3 separate regions of the Homo sapiens genome follow, and all the other regions are linked to region 3. The links are contacts of gene promoters, found by promoter capture Hi-C in human tissues and cell types (Jung and others, 2019). All regions are on one chromosome and are shown on one strand. The core of a region is centred on a gene start or on the middle of the fragment in contact, and the rest is flanking DNA. Distances in the headings are between cores, read along the strand shown.

The links. The method cuts DNA at HindIII sites, captures the fragments that hold promoters and counts their contacts. A contact is called where the count stands out against the background at its distance.
Region 1: a contact is called between the fragment with the promoter of CAMK2B here and the fragment with the promoter of TMED4 in region 3, in 1 of the 25 tissues and cell types used here (heart right ventricle).
Region 2: a fragment that was not itself captured here is called in contact with the fragment with the promoter of TMED4 in region 3 in 1 of the 25 tissues and cell types used here (H1 embryonic stem cells).

What each region holds. Positions count from the first base shown.
Region 1 is chr7:44,323,540-44,327,951 of GRCh38, reverse strand. CAMK2B (calcium/calmodulin dependent protein kinase II beta) reads left to right here and starts at 2,358. Exons shown (of 24, transcript NM_001220.5): 1 at 2,358-2,595. The coding sequence starts at 2,531. The HindIII fragment of the contact is 12,993 bases long and covers 1-4,412 here.
Region 2 is chr7:44,902,086-44,906,900 of GRCh38, reverse strand. LOC105375262 (a long non-coding RNA gene) reads right to left here and starts at 2,200. Exons shown (of 2, transcript XR_927228.2): 1 at 909-2,200. The HindIII fragment of the contact is 4,847 bases long and covers 1-3,673 here.
Region 3 is chr7:44,580,559-44,584,895 of GRCh38, reverse strand. It overlaps TMED4 (transmembrane p24 trafficking protein 4), which reads left to right and starts at 2,665. Exons shown (of 5, transcript NM_182547.4): 1 at 2,665-2,849; 2 at 3,073-3,173; 3 at 3,322-3,447; 4 at 3,657-3,803. The coding sequence starts at 2,690. RefSeq lists an enhancer at 2,182-2,291 and silencers at 2,382-2,541, 2,942-3,041. The HindIII fragment of the contact is 5,448 bases long and covers 1-4,337 here.

The DNA of each region.
Region 1 (4,412 bases), core at 1,109-3,608, 260 kb after region 3:
TCTGGGACCAGAGAGTCATGGCTGGAAGTCTTTCTCCCTTCTACCCATTTTCCTATGATAGGGAGAAGCCGTCTGGGTCTGAGGGTGGGGACTGGGCTGTTTTTTGAGTGTTAGTGTGGGGTCAAGCTGTCTGGGTAGGGACAGTCTGGCTGCCTCTGATAGCCCAGCCCTTCCCCACTGTCTGGTGCCCAATCATGCCAACCTTCCTGCGCTCGCCAGGGTAGCTCTGCTTCATACCTCTAATATTTCAGCTCGGAGGAGGGACTGCCTGGGGGTCCCAGGTGCTAACAGGTACAAAAGGCGGGAAGAAGTATAGGATACAATGAATCTCAAATTGCATCTCTTAGTGACCCCACATTCTTGTGTAACCCTGGTCCTGGGCAGCTTCTCAACTTTTGAAAGGTGACCTCGGCCGGGTGCAGTGGCTCATGCCTGTAATCCTAGCACTTTGGGAGGCCGAGGTGGGTGGATCACCTGAGGTCAGGAGTTTGAGACCAGCCTGGCCCACATAGCTGGGGCTGTGAGCCACTGTGAGCTTGTTACAGGCGTGAGCCACCGTGCTTGGCTTGTTATTTGTATTCTGTTGTGTGGCCCTACCTCGTCTTTCCAGAGCTCAGAAAGGGAAAATATGGATGCATCCAGCAGGTGCTGGAAGAAACTCCTGTGGGGTTAAACACAACGCCAAGAACAAACCTCAGACTTGGCCTCCAGTCCTTTCTCGAGCCCATGCCAGTCTGTCTGTTAGGATGGCCCAGGATTCTCTGAGTCCAAGTCTGACATAGACGGGGTCTCCCTTCCTGCTATGGTCCTGCTGAAGTCAAGGCCAGGATCCCTCTGCTTCCTCAGCTGGGGACTTCCCCAGGTGGCCCAGCATTTGCCTTTGGCCTGAGAATTTCTCGTCCTCTAGTGTCTTCTGGGTGCAGGTGGGTCGATGGCAGGGACTTGTTGCCGTGTGGTCTACTAATTGCCCAGCAGTCCCATGCCAAATGCATCCTGGCCCAGAAGGGCCCTGGCTGCCAGCACTCAGAATGCCTTTATCCCCTCCCTTATCCACATGACATTTATTGTGGCTTCTGGGGCTTGCCCTGGGCTGGCCACGAGGTGAGAGGGATGAGCAGGATAGGCCCAGAATTGGTCCTTGGGGAGCAGTAAGGAAGTCATATCAGGGCAGCAGCGTGACCCAAATCCAGAGCTGGCTGCTGGAAACCCCCTCCTCAGAGCCTGCCCAGGATGGACCCCGTCAGAGAAGAGTGTGGGGATGCTGGAGCCCAGTGGTCTAAAGTCCCGGTTCTGGACAGCAGCCCTGGTGCCAGGCCTCAGGGAAGGCTGTTTTGTGGGAAACCGGGTCGCCCTGCCTCCTGCCTGCCTCCCTGCACTCTCCTCCTCCTTGGCTGCTTTCAGGAGGGGGTTGGGGTGTGTGGGCCCTCCTCCTCCAGGCAAAAGCAGGGGGCAGGCAGGTGGACCGTGCTGGAAAAGGAGAGAATGTGCACCTTTACCTGATCAGGGTGGCTGTGAGCTCTCAGGCCCCCCAAATTGCTGGTGGAGCAGCCCCTGTTCCCCTGGCTCAGGGTCCGTTGGTCTGGACTCCGAATGTTGCCTCCTGGGACCTCCATTCCAGACAACCCAGCAACCAGTCTTTGGAGAAGTGAGGGGGAAGGGAGGGGCTGGGGCCAAGGGGAGGGGGCAGGCCCCACCCTTTCACTTTCTCATGCTAGTGACCCAGTGTGTACACTGCCTTCTGGGCGGTTCCTCCTGGCCAGGCAGCCTTTGGGGCATGTGTGGCTGATGGAGACTGGGCAGAAGGGATCTGGCAGCATCTCTTCCTGAGGGTGTGAGGAATGAGTCCTGTGGAGGGCAGCACATGAGCCCTCTACCTCCATGTGGGCCCCAGTCCCCTCCTGCTGTCAGGCTAGGTGGGCCTTCGAGAGAGAGAGAGGAGGCTGCGTTCATTATGTGCACTCTTCTGTGTTATGTGAGAGCGAGGGGTCGGCAGCAGCAAGTGGCCTGCGTGCGCGAGGTGCGGGCGTGGTGCGGGTAGAGGATGAAGGCGTCAGTACAGGGCGCGGGTGTGTGTGTGGGGTGCGGGGGCGGGCGGGGGCGGGCGCGCGTGTGAGTGCAGGTGCAGGTGCAGGTGCGTTGCGGGTGCGGGGCAAGGGTGTGTGTGCAGGGCGCGTGTGCAGATGCAGGGCGCCGGTGCCCTGCGGGTGCGGGTGCAGGAGCAGCGTGTGCAGGGCGCGGGGAAGGCGCGTGCAGGGGGCGGCGGGCGGGGCGGGCGCGGCGGCGGCGGCGGTGACAGCGGCGCCCGCGCCTCCCCGCGCGTAGGTGTGCGGCGCGCTCCTGGCGAGGACGGAGCGAGCAGATCTCGCGTGCGCTCGCCGCCCGGCGCAGCCCAGCCCGGCCCCCGCCTGGCGCCGCGAGCCGAGGTGTCTCCCGCGCCCGCGCCCGTGTCGCCGCCGTGCCCGCGAGCGGGAGCCGGAGTCGCCGCCGCCCGAGCGCAGCCGAGCGCACGCCGAGCCCGTCCGCCGCCGCCATGGCCACCACGGTGACCTGCACCCGCTTCACCGACGAGTACCAGCTCTACGAGGATATTGGCAAGTAAGAGCAGCGGCGCGCGCGGGCTGGGCCGGGGACCCCAGAGGGCCGGGACCTCCGGGACCCTCCGCGCCGCCGGCTCCAGGCGCACTGCGGGCCCGCGCGCCGCCGGCTTCTCTGGGCTCCGGGCCCAAGCGCACGGCCCCGCGCGGCCCCGACCCGCGAGCCCCCGGCCCCGGGCCTGGCTGCCTGACCTCAGCGCGCGCGGCCCTGCCCAGCTCTGCCCAGCGCGGCTGCCGGGCCGGGGCTCCGGGCTCGCGACTTGGCGCGGCGGGGGCGGCAGCAGGTGTCCCCGGAGCGCCCGGCAGACGTGACGCATTTGGCGGCGGGGAGGTCAGAGAGGAGGGGCGCGCGGGGGTGGCCCCCGGGCCTGGAGCGCCGGGAGGGGTCGGCTGCGGCCCCAGAGGGTCGTCCCCGACGCGGGTGCGCTGTCCCCACCCCCACCCGAGCGGCAGGCGGCGGGGGTGGCGGGACCTGCTTGCGCCTGCTCCTGCGCGTGGCCCCATCCGCGCTGGGGGTGCCGGCGTGGGAGAGCCTCTGCTGTAGGTCCCCTGGGGAATCTGGGTTCTGGAGGATTTTCCCCCAGATTCTTCTGGAAACAGGAATTTGGAGGTGTGGGGAGGACGAGGTCAGGGAGCCTGGATCAGGTCATGGGGATAGCGGGGAGAGACTAAGAGCCTGACTGGATTGCAAATTTCAGGGTCATCGAGGTGGATGGGGGCTGGATTTTGGACTGTTGGCGGGGGCGCCCTAAAGGGGAAGGGGCTTTGAAGGTTTGTTTGAAGTGGGACCTCACGGGGAACAGGTGCTGTGGCTCCCGTTCTCTCCTTGGCAGTATGAGCAGTGTAGGGCGAAGGTCTGGTTCGTGGTCCCCGGACCCGGCTTTGCCCCTGGGGTGAGATGGGGAGCGCCTCAGGGGCCTCCTGTCTGGCCTGGGGTCTCCCGTTCTGAGAATCAAGGTGGCTGCACCTGGCATCCCTAGGGCTAGCTTCAGAACTCCTGAATCTCCAGCCTGACTGGGCCAGAGCCCCATCCTCCTGCGTCCTCCCCCATCCTCCTCCGTCCCTTCAGTGCAGGCGGTGGGGGCGCTGGCGGTGCTGGCGAGATTTCCTCTTACACATCCAGCAACAGATCCTTTTTTTCCTTTACTAAATAAGTGTCTGGTGAAACCTTGTGGTGGGTGAGGGACGCTGATCATTGATAATTGTGGAGTGCGGAGCTGGAGGAGTGTGGGGGTGTGTTCATTCCCCACTTCTCCCTGCACGTGTGGAGAGAATTCTGGTAGGGGTTAGGGATGTGGAGCCCAGCCCTGCAAGAAGCCCATGCTGGATGGGTGGGGTGGGGGGCCAGGCTGGCTGGGGGACCCTTCCTTGGGTGGATCTGGAGAGCACCACAGGGCTGAGACCTCGAGGGAGAGGGCGAGCCCAGCCCCCTTCATGCGGATCCCTGAGTGGGTGGCTGGCTCCCCGGTCTTCACCCCTCAGATGCACCGATCTACCCCCGTCTGTCCTCTTGGCCTCCAGAGGTGTCCTGGCCACTGGAGGGGCAGGTGGGTGGCAGTTAATGTGCCTGGTTCTCTGAGGAAGAGAGCAACAGTGGGAAGTCAGTCTTTCCTCAGGAGCCTTCTTGTTGTCTTTTCTGCTTGCGCTCAGAAGCACAGAGGCCCTCACAGCAGGTGTCCCTGGTCTTCTCCAAAGAAGCCACTTTCAAGACCTCCCCATGTGCACCCAGTGTCCTCAGACTGCAGCTCACTCTGGCTGTTCCTTCTTCCCTTTGCTGCGAGCCTCCCTGCGTCCAGCGGCAGTGTCCGGGTGGCCAGC
Region 2 (4,815 bases), core at 1-2,500, 320 kb before region 3:
AACCAGAAAAAACAAAAATGAAGACAACAGGTGCACTAGGATGGTAAGATTGTGTATGAAATTTTGTTCACTTAAAATTGTCTGGCTAGGTGCAGTGGCTCACGCCTGTGATCCCAGCATTTTGGGAGGCCAAGGCAGGCAGATCATTTCAGGTCATGAGTTCGAGACCAGCCTGGCCAAAATGGTGAAACCCCGTCTCTACTAAAAATACAAAAATTAGCCAGGCATGGTGGTGGGTGCCTGTATTTCCAGCTACTTAGGAGGCTAAGGCAGGAGAATTGCTTGAACCCAGGAGGTGGAGGTTGCAGTGAGCCGAGATTGAGCCACTGCACTCCAGCCTGGGCAACAAGAGCAAAACTCCATCTCAAAAAAAAAAAAAAAAAAACAACGGAAATTTTCTGTAATATTTTAGTAAGGTTTTAATAAAATATACCTTAAAAATATTTGGCCGAGTGCAGTGGCTTGTGCCTATAATTCCAGCACTTTCAGAGGCCAAGGTGGGAAGATTGCTTGAGCACAGGAGTTTGAAACCAGTCTGGGAAACCCCCTCTCTACAAAATAAAAAATAAAAAAGTTAGCCAGGAATGGTAGTGTGCACCTGTGGTCCTAGCTACTCAGAAGGCTGAGGTGAGAGGATCACTTGAGCCCGGGAGGTAGAAGCTGCAGTGGACTGTAGTCGTGTCACTGCACTCCAGCCTGGGCGACAGAATGAGACCATGTCTCAAAAAAACAAAAAAAAAAAGTTCTACCTCCTAAACTAAAACTTGAATTAAAGAAGCAATTCAACCAGAGGAGGACAAAGAGGTGACAGATCTCACTGCTTATCTAACCTAGCAAGCAGGAAAATAACTATGCTGCTAATTTATCAAAAAGAGAGAAAGTAGAATCCTTGCCTGAGAGGAGTTTACCTTTTTGTACTCTGAAGACAGAAGAGCAAGACACATCTTGGAAATCATGGTATATTCAAGGCTTTGGTCAATGGGCTCTGCCCCTGACTGTTGTGCTCCATTTCTGATCAGCCATGTCCTGCAGCTCAGCAGCAGATGGTGTGGCCAGGCCCCTGATGGTGGGGACAGCCAGGGTGAGTGGCTGGAGGGAGTCAGGGGGCTGGTCACAGACACATGGAGTCTGAGACAGAGGCAGGATGTGTAGCTAGAGCCATGATGCATCACAAAGCGAATGGGAGAATCCAGTAGTGACAGAAACACTAGAGCTGTCGATATGGAAATGGCCCCATTGCAGAAACAGTGAAAGCTCAAAGAGGCCATAAGATGCTCAAGGGCAAGCATGAAGGAAAGATCAGGAAGCCCAAGGGGTGGCAGGACAGAAGCTGCAGTGGGAGGTGATTAAAGCAGGTGCACACAGTGGCACCGGGGCACGGGAACAGCTCTGCCAGGAACTGAGGCGACGAAAACCCAAGTCATTGTCAGCCAGGAAGGACCACACTGTCAAGAAGGCGCCTCCTGGGAGGGGCATGAGTGTGGTGGGGTGAGGTGGGCATCCAGGACCAGCCAAGGAGTGACGTCCAGGGTGCGCCACATGCGGTTCTTTCCCATGAGAAAGTTTCCATATACTGCTCACTTAACTGAAAAGATGGCACTCACACTTCAGAGTCTTGCAAGATGAGTGGGAGAAGCACATGAGAGATGCATAAGGGACCTTTGCTGAGAAGCAGGCGGGAACTGCTCAGCTGTAAACTACACCAAAGAGTCACCGGGACCCAGGGCCTACCTCCCAGCTCCCACCTGCAGGTGCATCCTTCTCAGCTTCTACACAGTTGATTCGATGCTGGAAGGTTTCCCATGCTCATGCTCCACTCCCCGTCCACCTTGCTGAAACTGCCTGAGTGCTGTCTTAATAAATACACATTTTCTTTATTTCTTACTCAAATTGAGGAGCCTCTCAACAGCTAGAAGTGGTTCATGGTTCTCCACTCCAGCTGCACATTAGACTCAATTGGAGAACTTTTGCAACATAGCAATGCCCCAGCTTCATCCCAGGTAATTAAATCAGAATGTGACAGATTCACTGGGTGATTCTGAGACGAGAACCGGGAATTCAGTGATACACTGTACATCCTTTGTGATATATTGGTAAATTAATAGGCTGTTATTAAGAATATCCTGAAGAGCCTCATGCAGTTTCTATAGAAACAGTATGGAGGTTTGGTTCCTCAAAAAAAAATTTTTTTTTTTTTAAGCAGAGTCTCGCTCTGTCGTCCAAGCTGGAGTGCAATGACATGATCTCTGCTCACTGCAACCTCTGCCTCCTGGGCTCAAGTGATCCTCCCACCTCAGCCTCCCAGTAGCTGGGATTATAGGCACCTGCCAAGACTAATTTTTGTATTTTTAGTAGAGACAGAGTTTCACCATGTTGCCCAGGCTGGTCTCGAATTCCTGGCCTCAACTGACCGTCCCATCTCAGCCCCCCAAGTAGCTGAGACTACAGGTGTGCATGTATTTTTTGTAGAGTCGGAGTTTTGCCATGTTGCCCAGGCTGGTCTTGAACTCCCAGGCTCAAGAGATACACCTGCTTTGACCTCTCCTCAAAAAATTAAAAACAGAACTACCATATGATCTGGCAATCCCACTGCTGGGTATTTATCCAAAAGAATTGAAATCAGGATCTTGAAGAGATGTCTGCACTCACTGTTCATAGCAATACTAGTCACAATCGCTAAGCTGTGGAAATAACCTAAATGTCCATTGATGGATGAAAGGACAAAGGAAATGTGGTGTGTAAATCCAATGACATATTAAAAAGAAAGGAAATTCTACAATATGCAGCAACACGGATGAACCTTGAGAACATTATGCTAAGTGAAATAAGCCATTACAATGTGGTTACCAGGGGCTAGGGGCAGGGGAAAAAGGGGAATTGCTAATCAATGCATATAAAGCCCTAGAGATCTTCTGTACATTTTCCCTATAGTTAACAATACAGTATTATGCACTTAAAAATCTGTTAAGAGGGTAGATACATTGTGTTCTTACTACAATTAAAAAATGTTTAAAGAATGTTTTTAAATAATAGTCTAAAGGAAATAAAAGATAAGCTACAAATAAGAGAAGACATAATCAACAAATGATTGCACTAATAACAGGTACAGGCAGGGTGAGGTGGCCCACACCTGTAATCCTAACACTTTGGGAGGCCAAGGCAGGAGGATCACTTGAGTCCAGGAGTTCAAGACCAACCTGGGCAACTGGGCACCTTGTCTCTACAAAAAATTAAAAAATAAAAATTAGGCTTGGGCATGGTGGCTCACGTCTGTAATCCCAGCACTATGGGAGGCCAAGGTGGGTGGATCACCTGAGGTCGGGAGTTCCAGACCAGCCTGACCAACATGGTAAAACCCCATCTCTACTAAAAATACAAAAATTAGCTGGGTGTGGTGGTGGGCACCTGTAATCCCAGCTACTCAGGAGGCTGAGGCAGGAGAATCACTTGAACCCAGGAGGTGGAAGTTGCAGTGAGCCGAGATCGCACCACTGCACTCTAGCCTGGGCGACAAAGCAATACTCTGTCTCAAAATAAAATAAAATTTAATTTAATTTAAAAATAAAAATAAAAATTAGCCAGGCATGGTGACACATGCATGTAGTCCCAACTACTCAGGAGGCTAAGGCAGGAAGATCACTTGAGCCCAGGAGTTCAAGGCTGCAGTGCTGTAATTACACCACTGCACTCCAGCCTGGGTGACGGAGTAAAACTCTGTCCTCAAAAAATTAAAAATTAGAGGCAGTTGGATCACTTGAGGCCAAGAGTTTGAGACCAGCCCGGTCAACACAGCGGAACCCCGTCTCTATTAAAAATACAAAAATCAGTCGGGCATGGTGGCGCATGCCTATAATCCCAACTACTTGGGAGGCTGAGGCAAGAGATTCATTTGAACCCAGGAGGCAGAGGTTGCAGTGAGCTGAGATCGCACTATTGCACTCCAGCCTGGGTGACAGAGGGAGGCTCTGTCTCAAACAAAACAAAACAAAACAAAACAAAATTTTTTTTTTGAGACGGAGTTTTGCTCTTGTTGCCCAGGCTGGAGTGCAATGGCACGATCTCGGCTCACCGCAACCTCTACCTCCCAGGTTCAAGCAATTCTCCTGCCTCAGCCTCCCTAGTAGCTTGGATTACAGGCATGTGCCCCTATGCCCGGCTAATTTTGTATTTTTAGTAGAGGCGGAGTTTCTCCATGTTGGTCAGGCTGGTCTCGAACTCCTGACCTCAGGTGATCCATCCGCCTTGGCCTCCCAAAGTGCTGGGATTACAGGCATGAGCACCACGCCCAGCCAACAAACTTTTAATTAAAAAAATATTTAAAGAACATGTGGCCGGGCACAGTGGCTCATGCCTGTAATCCCAGCTCTTCGGGAGGCTAAGGTGGGTGGATCACGAGGTCAGCAGATCGAGACCATCCTGGCTAACATGGTGAAACCCCATCTCTACTAAAAATACAAAAAATTAGCCGCGCGTGGTAGTGGGTGCCTGTAGTCCCAGCTGCTCGGGAGGCTGAGGCAGGAGGATTGCTTGAACCCCAGAGGCGGAGGTTGCAGTGAGCCAAGATCGCGCCACTGCACTCCAGCCTGGGCGACAGAGCGAGACTCCGACTCAAAAAAAAAAGAACAGGTACAGAATTCCTAGCCCTATTTTTTTAAATGGGCAAAAGACATGAAGAGGCATTTCACCAAAGGGGGAACACATACAGCCAACAGGCACTCAGAGGGATGCTTGGCCTCCTCAGTAATCAGGGAAATGTAAACCAAGATAAGAGATAGTACTTTTCATTCATTCCACTGGCAATAATTAAAAATCTGA
Region 3 (4,337 bases), core at 1,416-3,915:
CACCTAAACCTAATGAAGCTTCTAGCCAGGGGCAAATCCAAGCTTTGTGGGGCCTTAAACTATACAAATTTCACAGTCCTCTTTAAGAAAAAGACACAAAATTATAAATGCGAAATTAGGTACGGGGGTCTATGCAAGGGAGGGCCTGAAGATTAAGCTTCATTAGTTTCACTGTAAACCTCCCCTGACTCTAGAATTAACTGTGATTACAGGACATACCAGGGACAAAAAACGTTAAATGACACCTGAAGATACAATCAGCAAAACCCAGAAAGTGGAAAATTCTGTTGGTCAAATGACCCAGTTTCTTCAATAAGTAAATGCCATGAATAACAAACAACAAAAAGAGAGGGGAAATTTATATATATAATATATATATAATATGTATAATATATATATATGTTGTTATATGGTTTGTTTTTTTTTTTTTGGACACGAGTCTCTCTCTCACCCAGGCTGGAGTGCAGTGGCATGATCTCGGCTCACTGCAACCTCTGCCTCCTGGGTTCAAGCGATTCTTCTGCCTCAGTCTCCCAAGTAGCTGGGACTACAGGTGAGCACCACCACACCCAGCTAATTTTTGTATTTTTGGTAGAGGTAGGGTTTCACCATATTGGCCAGGCTGGTCTCGAACTCCTGACCTCGTGATCTGCCCACCTTGGCCTCCCAAAGTGCTGGGATTACAGGTGTGAGCCACTGCGCCCGGCCCTGTTTTTGTTTGTTTTGAGATAGAATCTCACTCTGTTGCCTAGGCTGGAGTACAGTGGCATCATCTCAGCCCACTGCAACCTCCACCTCCCTGATTCTAGCAATTCTCCTGCCTCAGCCTCCCAAGTAGCTGAGATTACAGGTGTGCACCACCACACCTGGCTAATTTTTGTATTTTTAGTAGAAACAGGGTTTCACCATGTTGGCCAGGCTGGTCTCAAACTCCTGACCTCAAGTGATCCTTCCACCTCAGCCTCCCAAAGTGCTGGGATTACAGGCATGAGCCACTGTGCCCAGCCAAAATTGTTATATATTAAGAGACATATATTTGTATGAAATGCAGTAAGTAAACCTTGTTTGGACCCTAAATATCTAATGTACAAAATTTTTTAAGGCAATGGGGAAAATTAAACACATACTAGGTATTAAGTGATGTTAAATAATTTTTAAAATTTTGGTGGGTGTGATAATAGTATAAAGTCCTTATCTGTTAGAGACACACACTGACGTATTTATAGGTGAAATGACATGATGTCCAGGATTTGCTTTAATATACAGCACTTCAAAAAAAAATGCAGAAAGGGATACATGAAATGAGAAAGGCAGCAAACTGTTGTTGAAGTTGGATGATGAGTACAGCCCTCCGTTATTATCCAAGGGGGATAATTCCTGGACCCCTACGGATACCAAAATCCAGGTATGCTCAAGTTCTTTATGAAAGTTCATTGTAATTATTCTATTATATAAAAGTTTCGAAATTCTGTTGATAAAATGTATTTTTAGTAGAGACGGGGGTTTCACCTTGTTGGCCCAACTGGTCTCGAATTTCTAACCTCAGATGATCCACCAGCCTTGGCCGCCCAAAGTGTTAGCATTACAGGCGTGAGCCACCGCGCCCGCCTGGCCTTGATAAAAACAGTTTTAACCTTCCGTTGCTTCGATTCCATGCCCACTAAGTAACATTCCAGTTTGTTTTTCACTTTCAAAAGGATGTGCTGTAACTAGGGGATGTAAACAAGCTCCATGACCCTACTTATTCCAAGTTTTCGTTCCACTCTCCCACCTTTTTTTTAAGACAAGGTATCACCCTCGGTCGCCCAGGCTGGAGCGCGATCACTGCTTAATGCATCCTCGACCTCCTGGGTTCAAGCGATTCTCCTGCCTCAGCCTCCCAAGTAGCTGGGACTACATGCGCACACCACCACACCGGTTAATTTTTTGTAGAGACGGGGGTTTCACCATGTTGCCCAGGCTGGTCCCGAACTCCTGGGCTCAAGGGATCCGCCCGCCTCAGCCTCCCAGAGTGCTGGGATTACAGGTGCCAGCCACCGCGCCCGGCCCCAGCTTCTTAAAAGAATGATCCGAAACTATGGCAGCACTGGGCTTTTGGTCCCCACCCAAGAAATGCCCGCTCGCAGAGGCTCGCCGCGGCAGGCTCTCCCGACGTGACAGAGTGTGGGTCTGGATTCAGCCTCGGTTCTTACGAGTCAGATAGGTGGACACGCAAAGCAAAACATCACAGGGCTTTTTGTATTTAGCACAGAAAACACTTGTGAGCCCGAGCTGAGAACCCAAAAGGCACGCTTCAGGCCATCGTAGCCACCAAGCCTGGTCAGATTCCGTCCACCGTCTCCTTGGTGCTCCGAGACCCAAATCGCTGACTGGGGCCGAGGGCGGGCGTGACTGCGCAGGCGTGCCTCCCCTGCGAGATGCCGGAGGTAAGCTGCGGGGTAAGGGGCGAGAAATTAAGGGCGAACGTCATTGCGCATGCGCCCTCTACTCTCGTTGCGGGGGTAGGCGGGCGCCGGGCTGTGTGAGGGGGCGGGGCGCGGCAGTGTTCGGTACGGATGGAGTTGCAGGAGACGGCGAGTACATATCACTGCGCAGGCGTCCTCTTCCCCTAACTCTCAGGGTCGCTAGGGTGGCGCGCAGGCGCAGAGCGATGCGCAAATGTGCGCAGGCGCTTAGGGGCTGAGGCGCGATGGCAGGTGTCGGGGCTGGGCCTCTGCGGGCGATGGGGCGGCAGGCCCTGCTGCTTCTCGCGCTGTGCGCCACAGGCGCCCAGGGGCTCTACTTCCACATCGGCGAGACCGAGAAGCGCTGTTTCATCGAGGAAATCCCCGACGAGACCATGGTCATCGGTCAGGCGGGCTGAGGGTGGGGAGGCCCTTTGTACCCAGCTCAGCCCTCGGCGGCGCTCCCTCCTCCCGAGCCCAGCCGGGTCGCTGGCTCCCCCAGTACCTAGCCTGAGGGTGCCCCGAGGACGCCAGGCCCCCTGCCTAGAGCTCCGGGCCGCACGTCGGAGGGGGCCGGGCGGAGAGGCGGCCCACTAGGGCCGGTCGTGACTATGTGTCTGCCCCGCAGGCAACTATCGTACCCAGATGTGGGATAAGCAGAAGGAGGTCTTCCTGCCCTCGACCCCTGGCCTGGGCATGCACGTGGAAGTGAAGGACCCCGACGGCAAGGTAAGGCTGGCGTTGGCCCACGCAGCCGTTCTTCAGTGGAGCTCCCGTGGGGTGTAAAGCACTGCCTGGAGGAGGCCTCAAGGGACAGGAACTTGCACTTGGAGAGCCTGCGGTATAAAGGTGGGGCCTTCACTCACATATGTTGCAGGTGGTGCTGTCCCGGCAGTACGGCTCGGAGGGCCGCTTCACGTTCACCTCCCACACGCCCGGTGACCATCAAATCTGTCTGCACTCCAATTCTACCAGGATGGCTCTCTTCGCTGGTGGCAAACTGGTAAGAGGATTTTCTCTTTGGCTTCAGCTTAGAATCTCTCACTTGTTTCCAAATTTTGATTTATCAAGATTGTGAAACTTTGTAGCACAGTCAGAATTGGGGAGACAGATGTTGCCTTCTGCTCCACAGCCAGGGACAATAGTGGGTTCCATACCCTGGAACAGACAACTGGAGGCCCCACCACTCATACATTCCATGTTTCCTTGTAGCGGGTGCATCTCGACATCCAGGTTGGGGAGCATGCCAACAACTACCCTGAGATTGCTGCAAAAGATAAGCTGACGGAGCTACAGCTCCGCGCCCGCCAGTTGCTTGATCAGGTGGAACAGATTCAGAAGGAGCAGGATTACCAAAGGGCAAGTGCATATCTCCTTGTAATTTGAGAGGGCAGTTGACCTTTATACCCACTATACCTACTCAAGTTTCTGCTTGGGAGATCAGCTCTGCAGAGAATGGAATGAGAAGTATTGGTTTAGATAGGTTGTTTGTTTGTTGTTTTTGAGACGGAGTTTCACTCTTGTTGCCCATGCTGGAGTGCAATGCCATGATCTTGGCTCACTGCAACCTCCGCCTCCCCAGGTTCAAGCGATTCTCCTGCCTCAGCCTCCTGAGTAGCTGGGATTACAGGCATGCGCCACCATGCCTGGCTAATTTTGTACTTTTAGTAGAGACGGGGGTTTCTCCACGTTGGTCAGGCTGGTCTCGAACTCCCGACATCAAGTGATCCGCCCGCCTCAGCCTCCCAAAGTGCTGGGATTACAGGTGTGAGCTACCGCGCCCTGCCTGTTTTGCTTTTTTATCAAAACATTTTATTGTGGTAAAATATAACACCAAATGTGTCATTTTAACTGTCTATATAGTTCAGTGGTATTAAGTGCCTTCATAATGTT